2 separate regions of the Homo sapiens genome follow, and region 2 is linked to region 1. The links are contacts of gene promoters, found by promoter capture Hi-C in blood cells and fetal thymus (Javierre and others, 2016). All regions are on one chromosome and are shown on one strand. The core of a region is centred on a gene start or on the middle of the fragment in contact, and the rest is flanking DNA. Distances in the headings are between cores, read along the strand shown.

Region 1 (5,415 bases), core at 919-3,418:
TCGCGTCTGCCCACCCCGCGGAGCGCTTGCAGCCTAGGGCCTCTGCGCGCGCCCGCCAGCTCGCAGTGCAGTCCACTCGGCCGTCCCGGCCGCCAGGATTTAGGGTGTCCAGGGCTGGCAGGCCGGGCGTGCAGCGAGGGCCGGGGCTGAGGCTCCGTGCGCCTTCGTGGGTTCCCACAGAGGGTCCTCGAAACACAGCCCCCTCCCCCATCGCCTACACTTGCCCTCCTGTCCCGAGCGGCTCGAAACCACTTGGAGACAGCCGCCCCCGCCCTCTGCCTCTGCGTCCCTTTTCCCCTTCCCTCTCTCCAGCCTCCTGGGAAACAAAGGGGCTTTTTATAAAGCGGATTGTTGGCGGCGGCGGCGGCGGGGGTGGGAGGGAGGGGGGATCTATAAAGACAAGAAGAGGTGGGAGGGAGGGAAGGAAAGAAGCTGCGCGGCCTCCAGGGGCCCAGAGCTGCGGTGGCGGCCGGGAAGCCCCGGCGGGTGCACGGTCGACCCCGCCCGGCCGGTGGGCACTCGGGCGGCAACCCACGCCTGCCAAGAGCTGGGCCGCGCCGCTGCGATGTCGCTCGCCGGCTCACCGCAACCAGGGAACACAATTCCCCAGGCGCGGGCCGGGGCCGCTGGGGGCGGCGCAATTCCCGCGGGGGTCTACCCCGGGAGACCCAGGCCCTCTCCCTAGCCAACTCTTTCAAAATTGCTTGGTCTCAGGGAGACTTTGCGCCTTTGTTCCAGCGCAGCCGCCTCTAGTAAGCTCGGCTCGCTCGCCCTTGCAGACAATGTCCCGGAGCCGGCCTGGGTTTGCCTACCCGTGAGCAGCACGTTCACCGTGGGGACCGCGCCCCCGGGGGGCACCGTGGTGCCAAACAACAACGACAAGCCACCCCAGCAAAAGCAGCCCCTTCTCCCCACGTCCCCCAGCCACGCTGTGCTCCCGCCCGCTCACACACACCCACACTCCGGGTGCCCAGGTCAGCCGCACCCAGCTGCAGAAGCGCGGCGGGGCGGGAGTGAATGCTCCAGCCCGAGGCGCGTGTTTGCACAGGTTCCGATGGCTTCAGGGCCGAGCTTTCTGGCAGGCTAATCCTATTAGTGTCTGCTCAGTCCGAATTTAATCACGGATCAGAATCAGACGACATCTCCAGCTTTCCAGGAGGCTTCGGACACACTGCATTGGGACGGAGCCTGGCCAAGCCAACTGGCCGAGAAAAGTATTTGGCGGCGCTCCGGGGGGCTTCCCGCCCGCGCTAGCCGGCGCCGGGCGCCCAGCTCTGTCGTCGCGCGGATGCTGGGGAACCTGAAGCGCGGACTCTGACGCAGGGGCGCCGGGGCTGCTCCGCAGGAACCCAGTCCGGGCTGCCCTGAACACCAGCTCAGCTCCGGGCTGCGCTTCCCAGGAGTTGGCAGGGGAGGGAGTGCAGGGCAGCGGATTCGGCGCGCACACTCCACACTCTCGCTCAGAGGCGGCAAACAGCGTTGGGGTGGGGAAATCCTTCATCCAGCGCCCACTGCCTACTGGCCTGGGCTCAGGCAGCTGGCATGTGAAGGCACCGTCGCCGGTGACACCCAGGCTGCAAGCGACCCGGGGGTGCTGGGACAGAGTGGGAGCCTCCCAGTAGCCCAGCGTAGCCCGAGGAGCTTGCGCCCTTCTACCTTTCCTCCCCGGTACGTGGCTGTCCCCGCCGGATTTCAGACGCCCGACGGGCGCCGAGCCAAAGGCCGTGGTCTCCGGCGTTTCGAGCTGCGCCCAGCCCAGCCGGGCTGGTTCGAGAAGGGGGTGGCCGCCCGCAGCGCCAGGTGGGCCGTGTGCTCAGAGCAAACTTTAGGGTCTACCGACTCGAAGCACCCCTGGGACCCCGATCCTCAGCGATGGGGACCATAACTGGGGGCTACAAGTGTACCCCGGAACCCCCAGAACAGTCAGACTTCCTGCACCCGCCCTCAGCCTTACCGTGCTGCAGAGCTCCGGCGGCGGCGGGGGCAGTGTCCGAGGGGCGGGCGGCCGCCGGCGCGGGCAGCCTGGACTCAGGCGGCCGCCAAGGAACCCAGCCCTGTTGCAGATCACCCCCTGGCTAGCGGCCGGTGCCCCCGCGCCCGCCCGCCGCCGGCCGCTTCAGCTCGCGGCCAAGTTCATGCTGGCGGCGCTGCAGTGGCGGCCTCAATCTGCTCGCTCCATTCCCACCGCCCGGCTCCGCGCCGCGCGCCCGGAAGGTGGAGTTTCGGGGGTTTAAGTTACTGATAGGCATTTCTCACTGCTGTGTCACTCGGGGAGGAGGAGACACGCACGCCGCACACTCACACACCCTCACACTCACGGCGACGAGCGGCTCCGGCCTTAAAGGGGAAGCCGCGCTGCCCTGCCCGCGACCCCGCCAGCCCGAAGCCTGGAAACTCAGGGTTTCCACTCCGGGATGGGGCAGCGGGCAGCCAAAGAGCTGCGGCCGCCCGAGGGGCCTCCCGGGCCCTCCCACCAGTCTTTAGAGGAGAAAGCGGCCGCAGGCTGGCTTCGCTGTTGCAGCCTCATTTCTCCAGTCGGCTCGAACCAGGGCAGCTGGGGAGGGATCGGAGGGGCGGAAGGGGCATCGGTGCACTCACCTTGGCTGCTCCGCACTCAGTGGAGGGTGGTCTGTGCCCCCGGCGTCAGCTGGCTTGCCTAGGCGGTGCGCTGGTGGAAAGAGGCGACAGCAGGGTTAGCGGAGCGCCTCCAGCAGACAGAGCCCGCCGGAGGGCCGCAGGCGGGGCCCGGCGCGCTTGGGAAACCCGCACGCCGAAGGTAGACTTTCCGCGTCTGGGGAAAACGAGCTGGTGAGCCGTGCGTGGCCGGGACACACGAAGAGCGAGCACGGAGAGCCAAAAGCCAGCGGTCATCAGTGACAGGGCGAGAGAGCGCTCAGGACCGAGAGACCAAGAAAGACAGGAGACCGTACGAGACACAGAGAAGGCAGAGACTGAGAGACAGATACCGAGAGAGGCACCGGCGGAGATAGAGGTAGAGACACGATGAAGGGAGAGGAGAGGAGAGGAGATGAGAGGAGAGGAGAGGAGAGGAGGAAATAAGGAGAGGAGGAGAGGGACCAGAGAACAAGAGAGCTTGCAAGAGGAATGACAGATCCCCAGAGGACCCTGAAGTGTCACAGGGACGGGAGTCTCATCACAAAGTAGCCTATTCAGCCCCCATCCCCCTTCCCATTTTCACCAGAGCCTGACCCTAGGGCTAGCGGCCAGGCCCTTCTCCTCCCCTCGCCCTGGGAGGGGCACTCACCTGCAGTGGGTGGCTGCTGGGTGGGTAGCGCCAGTCCCTCCGCCCACGCATCCGCTCACCAGCTCGCGCCCTGACTGCCAAACAGACCCGCTGTGGCGGCAGCGGGGACCAGGGCTCTCAGGTGGCAGTTAGTGAACTGCATTCTCTCCATCCCGGCCGAGTGCCCCACTCCCCACTTCCCAGTCCCCCACCCTTAGCGCGGACGCTGTCGGCGTCGCCCGCCAGTACGCTTAGCTCAGAGTCCAGGCTCGCTGGCCAGTCTCCCGTTCCACTGGACCAGGGCACGCGATGCTCCCGCCCAAGCTGGGCTGGATTGGCTCCCTCCGCAGTTATCCCAAGACGGACACCTGCGGCTTCTGCAGGAACATAGGTTCCTTGGGAACTGCCGGGCGGGCCAGCGCGCCCTGTCCACCATCTGCCCTGGCGCCGAGTCCAGCGACTCCCCTCCCACCTATCCCACCTCCCGGGTATTTGGCTGCGCCCCTTCTCTAGGATCCCCTCCCCGGATGCGTTTCCTAACCTGGACTTCTCCAGCCGATGGCAGCTGCAGGGGCTGAGCACAACCCGGGAACGCCGCGTCTGCTCCGACAGCAGCAGCGCTCAGCTCCTGTCCGCACCTCTGAGTAGCAACCTGTCACCAACACATCTGGTCACGCTCAGCGGAGCCGCAGGCCACGAATAAAGGGGTGGGCCCGCCGCCCACTAGGCCCCTCCTTCCCTCCACGCCCACGCTCTCGGCCCTCGGAAAGCGCTGGGGCCACCTCCGAGAACCCAGCAAGATCCCTTCGTGGGCTACGTAGGCGCAGTGAGGCTGGGCGATTGCCTCCTAGCGTTTCACGAAGTTACCTGGAGGAAGAGCGGCGTCCAGGCCCAACCGCGAGGCACATGCAGGGGCTGTGGCTTCGCAGCCCCAGCGCTGCCAGGATGCGCCCAGCCCAACAGGGCGAGGCTGGGGGTACACAGTTCGTCAGGGCAGTTGTGAAGGAATCCGCCTTGTCTGGGTCCAGTCCTGTCTGCTCTGCAAAGGGCAAGCAGCCAGAAGAGGTTATTGCTCTCTGGTGACTGAACCTTACCTTCAAGGCCCTCCAGGGAGAGCTAGAGTCATCTCAGGGTTGCCAGTGCCCCGGTAGAACTGCGAGAGTGCGGGAGTCCCTTGAAGGAAATCTGATTAAACAAAGCTGAATGGGAGATGGCCATGCCTATCACGGAGCATTGGCAGGATGCTTTTAAAATTCTATCTGCAACCTCCAAGTGCACTAGCCAAGGAGATGGAAGGTGGGTTTCTGTTCCCAGCACCTCCACTCAACCCTTGGACCACTTGCTCTCATCTTCCTCAGTGGGACAAATGATGCCCATTCCCCTAGAGCATCCTAAGAAGCCTGTAATATCACAGCCACACGTCTGCGAGATGGCTAACTGCCTGCTTGGCACCAGCACCTGGATGGCCATTAGAAATCGCCTGACTGAACCGAGTTCCTGATCGTCTCCCAAGTGTGCTGAGCCCATAGTCTGCTACCTCAGTTCATGGCTACTCCATCCTTCACGTTGCCCAGGCAGAAGGCCCTGGGATCCTCCCCGATTCTTCTCTCTTGCTCACACCTCACAGCCAGTCCAGTGGACAATTCTGCCATCTGCATCATCAAAATGTATCCACAATGTCAGTCTGCTCATCCATTGCTCCCCCCGGGTACCAGCCAGCAGCCTCTCCCCCCAGGATAACTCCAGTAGCTGCCGCACAGACTGCCCTCATTCCTCCCTCCCTTCAACCCTCTCCTTGCAGTCTATTCCCCGATCTCTGTGCCAAACCCCACAGTGACTCCCCATTGCACTCAAAGTAGAACTGAAGTGCTTCTAGTGGCCTCTGGGGCCCTTCAGGCATGTCCCTCCACTATCTCAATAACGTCATCTTCCCTCCACTCACTGTGCTCCAGCCACACAGACCTCCCAACTCTTCCTCAACACATAGATACATTCCTGCTTTACTTAGGACTTTTGCTTTAGCTGTTCCCTTGGGCTGGAATTCACTTCCCCAAGATATCTATGGGCTGGCTCCCTCATTTCCTTTAGTCTTGACACAAATGTCACCTGGCCACCCTATGTAACATTTCAAAGCCCCACGCCCATCTCTGGCACTTCCTCTCTCCTTCCCA
Region 2 (5,415 bases), core at 1,685-4,184, 120 kb after region 1:
GGAGGGACCAGGTGAAGACGATTGAATCATGGGGGCGGTTTCTCCAATCCTGTCCTTGTGATAGTGAATAACTCTCATGAGAGCTGATGGTTTTATAAAGGGGAGTTCCCCTGCACACACTCTCTTGCCTGCCACCACGTAAGACATGCCTTTGCTCCCTCTTCGCCTTCTGCCATGATTGTGAGGCCTCTCCAGCCATGTGGAATTGTGAATCCATTAAACCTCTTTTTCTTCATAAGTTACCCAGTCTCAGGTAAGTCTTTATCCATAGTGTGAGAACTGACTAATACATCTTAATGGTCTGACTACACTGGTGCAGTCCCACAGTTTAGCACCAATGGCTTTCCTGGCCATTGTCTGTTTTTGCCTCCTAACTGGATTGCCAGCAACAGGAGAACAGGCTTTGTCTCCTTGTCCCTTTTTTCCCCAACAGCATAGCCTAGCAGAGGCCTGGGCACTTGCCAATTGCTCAATATTTCAATTCAAGGCATTTAAGAGCTAGAACCATCCTTAGAGACCAGCTAGTCCAGCTCTCCCATGTTACAAATGGACAAACTGAAACCCACAGATGACAGGCTTGCCCAGGACCTCCTTATAGGGATAAGCTACTGACCATGGAAAGTCAAGCCTTCCTTCTTTTTGTTTACCCTTTGGCCTTATCATCCCTTATTATTCTCTGCATTTCATTCCTGTCTTCTTCTGCTTCAAGGAACCCGATTAAGGAGAGGAAAGGGCTAGGGAGCCTCTTCACCCATTGACCTCAACCCTGCAGGGCTGTGATAGTCCTTTACAGTTGATCCCTTTCTAAGAATACATTTCTAAAAATAAGCCTAATCCTGTATATAAATGTTTACATCCAACTCATATATGCTGACTCTGGGGGAGAAAGGGTCCCAGGTGGAACATATGCCACAGAGATATAAAGGAAAAGGGCCAATCAGCCTCCCTCCTGCCTGTCTCCCAGTGGCTATTGGAAAGGGAAGGGTGTGGGTGCTACTCCCTGGAGGAAGGGCAGAGAAAAGGCAGAATCTGTGACTGCCAGTTTGGGGGTGGGGGAAGATCACTCCCCTACCCTGACCTTTGGCTTTTTATCCACCAATCTCACCACCAGGAGCCTAGCCTGGTTCCCTATGAGCATGAGGCTTCATCCTCACCACTTCTGATGCCAGTATAGGGGATGGATGGAAGGTGTGGAAGAAAAGCGTGGAACCCTGAAAGACACTCCCAAAGTGCTTCAGCCTAAGAGAGCTCTACCTGCTGATGGATTATGATTCTTTCTACCAGAACAACTACCTCTAACTCTATCTCTTCCTCTCCCGCCTGTCTGTGTGTGTAATAAACACACACATAAATACATGCATATACACACAGAGAGAGGCAGAATCACATGGAGCATTTCAATCAGACATAAACAGTTTGAAGGGTGATAAGATGTTTTCAAATAGAGATAGCAATGTGATCTTTGCAATGGTGCAGGAAGGCCACGTGCTTGTTAGCGATCTTGTATATAATTGTGCTAAATTCAGCATAGGCAATAGGATAAGCACTCAGAATGGCTGCCTCCCTCCAGACTTCTGAGCAATGTAAAGGACCTTTTTTTTTTTTTTTTTTTTTCCTGAGACCGAGTTTCACTCTTGTTGCCCAGGCTGGAGTGCAATGGTGTGATCTTGGCTCACCGCAACCTCCACCTCCCGGGTTCAAGCGATTCTCCTGCCTCAGCCTCCCGAGTAGCTGGGATTACAGGCATGCGCCACCAGGCCCAGCTAATTTTGTATTTTTAGTAGAGACGGGGTTTCTCCATGTTGGTCAGGCTGGTCTCGAACTCCCGACCTCAGGTGATCCACCCACCTGGGCCTCCCAAAGTGCTGGTATTACAGGCGTGAGCCACCGCACCCAGGTGGGACTTTTAAATTGTCATTGGAAGAAGGGAAATACTGCTGAGGTTTTAAAGGACTTTGAAGGCAGAAATTCAAAATGGAGCCAGCTTGCTTTAGGAGGTTCCAGGCTACACAGTAAGTTTGAGGCAAATGGTACCTGAGGATTCATTTACTTGGAAGATATAAGATGCATAAGGGGCCACGCTCCTGGGCACAGGTGAGCCAGGGTGTAGACTGCAGGTATAGATGCTAATTGCTACTGTTGTGAATATTTGCTTCTTTGGGCTTCATGCTTATTTTTCCAAAATCTCAATTTCCTTTAAAATCAATAAAATGCTCTTGTATCTGGGCAGAGATCAGCAGTTCCCAAAGCACTTCTCCAGGCTGCATTGCATCTGGCCCTCCCAACAGCCAAGGGAGCTGGACAGCCCAGCTCTTACATCCCCATTTATGGGGGGAAGACAGGTGCAGCCAGGTCCCACAACTAGAGAGAGGCCCCTGGCTGAGAAGGGACTTCAATCCAAGGGTGGTCTCTCAGCCCCTGTAGTATTTATCACCTAACCACTAACATGTAAGGGACTTTTACCTAGAGGCAAAGCACATGATCCAAATCCAAAAAACTCACTAATGCCAATTCACTTTCCTTCTTGCCCTCTCTCCCTGTGTATCTGTCTCTGTCTCTTTCTGACTCTGTCTGTCTGCATCCAGGCCTGGGCTGACAGGCATGTGCCCAGATGTTTTCCTCTTTACTGAGAAAGCAAGCCCCACACTATCAGAGCTGTTCCCACCATTGCTGGCAGTTTCTAGCCAGCCTAGACCCCAGGCCTCAGTTGGTCCCAGGTAACCTCAGTTACCAAATGAGCATGTGCTGTTTAGCAGCTAGATTGTTTCTGGATTATGAGTGATAAAACAAATAACAAGTAAGCTTCTAGCCTGTGCCTGACTGAAATGTGGCCTGTGAAAGCTTAGCAACTGCACGTGCACAGGCGGTCAGGGGACCCAGCGGGCCCCTTGCTAGCTGCAACAGAAAAGATGTGTCTGTAGAAGATGGGGTGCTGAGGCCTGGGACAGGTGGAGATGGATTATGGTGGCTGAGGGGTGACACAGTAGGCCACCTAATACTTTTATGATAGGTTTAAATCAAGCTTAGCTACAGCTCAGGTAGCAGTTTCCCTGGCAAACCTTGTTTGACCACCTGTGCCTCCCTCCCACCATGTGCACAGGCACAAGAAATCCCTGTAAACAATGATGCACACACAGACAAGTGCACCCAGAGGCACACCCGCTCACACACGTGTACATGGGCACACACAGTCATGTACAAGCATGCATGCTCCCACATGCCATCCGTGTTGGGCTCCACTCCTCAGTTTCCGTACCACTTGAGCTTCCACCCGTTGGATCCCTTAGCTCACAGACCTACAAATGCCCATCCCTAGCACAAGTGCCCTACGTCCCTTCTGAAAAAGGCCCAGAGAGGGAGCGTCAGATAACTGAGATTACCTGGGACCAGGTACCTGGATCCCTGAAATAGGGATCTCTCAGGCTTCAGAGCTGGGAAGTCAGAAATACTTCTGCATGCCTCACTCTCAGTGCTGCTGCTGCCACTGCTTCAGGCCTTGCTCCTGCTGTGTCCCCCACCCTGGGGCACAGTGAGCCCCTGCTCCCCAGCGCTTGACCAAGGCTCTCTGTACACTAATTAGGCACTGCCTGCACCTCTTCTTGTCCAGGCAGGGTGACTAACACTAAGTCTTTCTGCCTCTGCACCCTTGGACAGCCTCTGTGCCCCTTCCATACTCTCCTGGGGCAGCTCTCTCTCCTTATCTGAGGCCTGCCCTTCACTGGTATCCCAGGTCTTAGAATGAATGTCTGCCCCAGGCAGAGTATTGTTCTAGGACCTGGGATCCTGTCTTGCCCAGGCCCAGCCTGCACTGAGTAGTTTGCTTTCCTTCCACAGCTGCTGCCCTGACCCAGGAGGGGTCCCGTGAACTCCTGCTCATAGTTAAGCCTAGATGAACATTATGATTGGAATTGTGTTCCCCCAAAAGATCTTAAAATTCTAACCCCCAGAACCTGTGAATGTGACCTCATTTGAAAATAGTCTTTGCAGATGAACAAGTTAAAATGGGCCATTAGGGTGGGCCCTAATCTAATATGACTGATGTCTTCATAAAAAGGGGACATTTAGACAGAGAGACAGGCAAACATAGAGGGAAGATGATGTGGAGACACAGGGAGAATGCCATCTCCACGCAAAGAAACACTTGAAGCTGCGAGAGGGTAGGAGAGAGGCCTGGAACTGATTCTCTCACAGCTCTCAGAAGGAACTCCCCCCACTGACATTTTGGTTTTGGACTTCTGGCCTCCAGGCAGAGTTTGACAGGGACAACCTCACCTGTGCAGTCCTGGTGAACTGCCTGGAGGTGCTGGGCAGGGGCTAACTCTGCCTGCTCTGGTTTGATAGCCACATGCCTCCCTCTACCTGGTGCAAATTGTTCCTGAGGGTCCTGTTCGCCTTTCCAGATCATCCATCTGGCCCCTCCCAGTAACCTGATACTCATAAGCACAATACATTTTTTTTCCTATGCTTCCAGCCTTTCAATAGCTTCTTATGGCCCCCAGATAAAGCCCTAGTTCCCTCCTGTGGCCCATGGAGCCTGCCTGGTCTGGTCCCTGTCCATCTCTATAGCCCTGCCAGTCCCCTACCCCAGAAATCTGGATGTCATGTTTTGCCCCTCCTTCTCTCTCCCTCATGCCCCCATCCAACCTGTGGCCTTAGTCCTGGCCAGACTCTCAGCCAGCTCACTGTTGGTTGCTCCACCTCCCTCCCCCACGCTGGCCTAAGCCCTCTCTGCTCCTCCCTGGATAGCTGTGCCAATCTCCTCCCTGGACCCTCTGCCTCCAAACTGCATGTCTCCCACCATTGTCCACGTGGCAGCCAGAGGAATCCTTTGCAAACACAAATCTGACCACGTCGCTCCCCTTCTTCAAACATTTTGGTGGCCCTGAGCACAAAGGCCCAGCTCCCTAGCAAGGCCACCAGGCCCTGTATGACTGCAACCCCATTGTTCTCTCCTGCATTGCCTTCTGATTTACAATATTTGCTGCCCTTGATCCAGGAAACCTTGCAGGGCCCCACAACAGAGGCATGGGTTCTCCTGCAGGAGGCCGCACTGGTGCAGGAGGCAGCACTGGTGCAGCAGGTAGGCTGTGTAGCTGAGGGAGCCACTGACCTCACTGCTTTCTCAAGAGAGCAAGGAGAGTTCCCCAACTGGCTGGCTGTGCTGGCAGCAAGGTTTCCAGGGTTGAGGTGGGTGGGGAGATTCGTATTATGCTAATTAGATCTGGCTCCTTAGGACTGTCCCTCAGGCACTGATTTCTGGAAAGGGCTCATTGAGCTTGACTTTGACAGATGGCCTCTGGGATGAATGAGTGTGAGTGTGTACATGTCCATGAGTGTACATAGGTGTCCAGTATGCATGTGCGTCTGGGTGTGTAGGTGCGACTATGTGTATATAACATTGGGATATGTACACAT

What was found. The method cuts DNA at HindIII sites, captures the fragments that hold promoters and counts their contacts. A CHiCAGO score of 5 or more calls a contact.
Region 2: a contact is called between a fragment that was not itself captured here and the fragment with the promoter of MAMLD1 in region 1, in 1 of 17 cell types (M1 macrophages). The highest score is 5.0, in M1 macrophages.

What each region holds. Positions count from the first base shown.
Region 1 is chrX:150,360,070-150,365,484 of GRCh38, reverse strand. MAMLD1 (mastermind like domain containing 1) reads right to left here and starts at 2,168. Exons shown (of 8, transcript NM_005491.5): 1 at 1,955-2,168. The HindIII fragment of the contact is 7,703 bases long and covers 1-5,415 here.
Region 2 is chrX:150,238,528-150,243,942 of GRCh38, reverse strand. No RefSeq gene overlaps it. Among named protein-coding and RNA genes, the nearest start is that of MIR2114, 13 kb to the right of the region's middle. RefSeq lists an enhancer at 4,903-5,404. The HindIII fragment of the contact is 181 bases long and covers 2,844-3,024 here.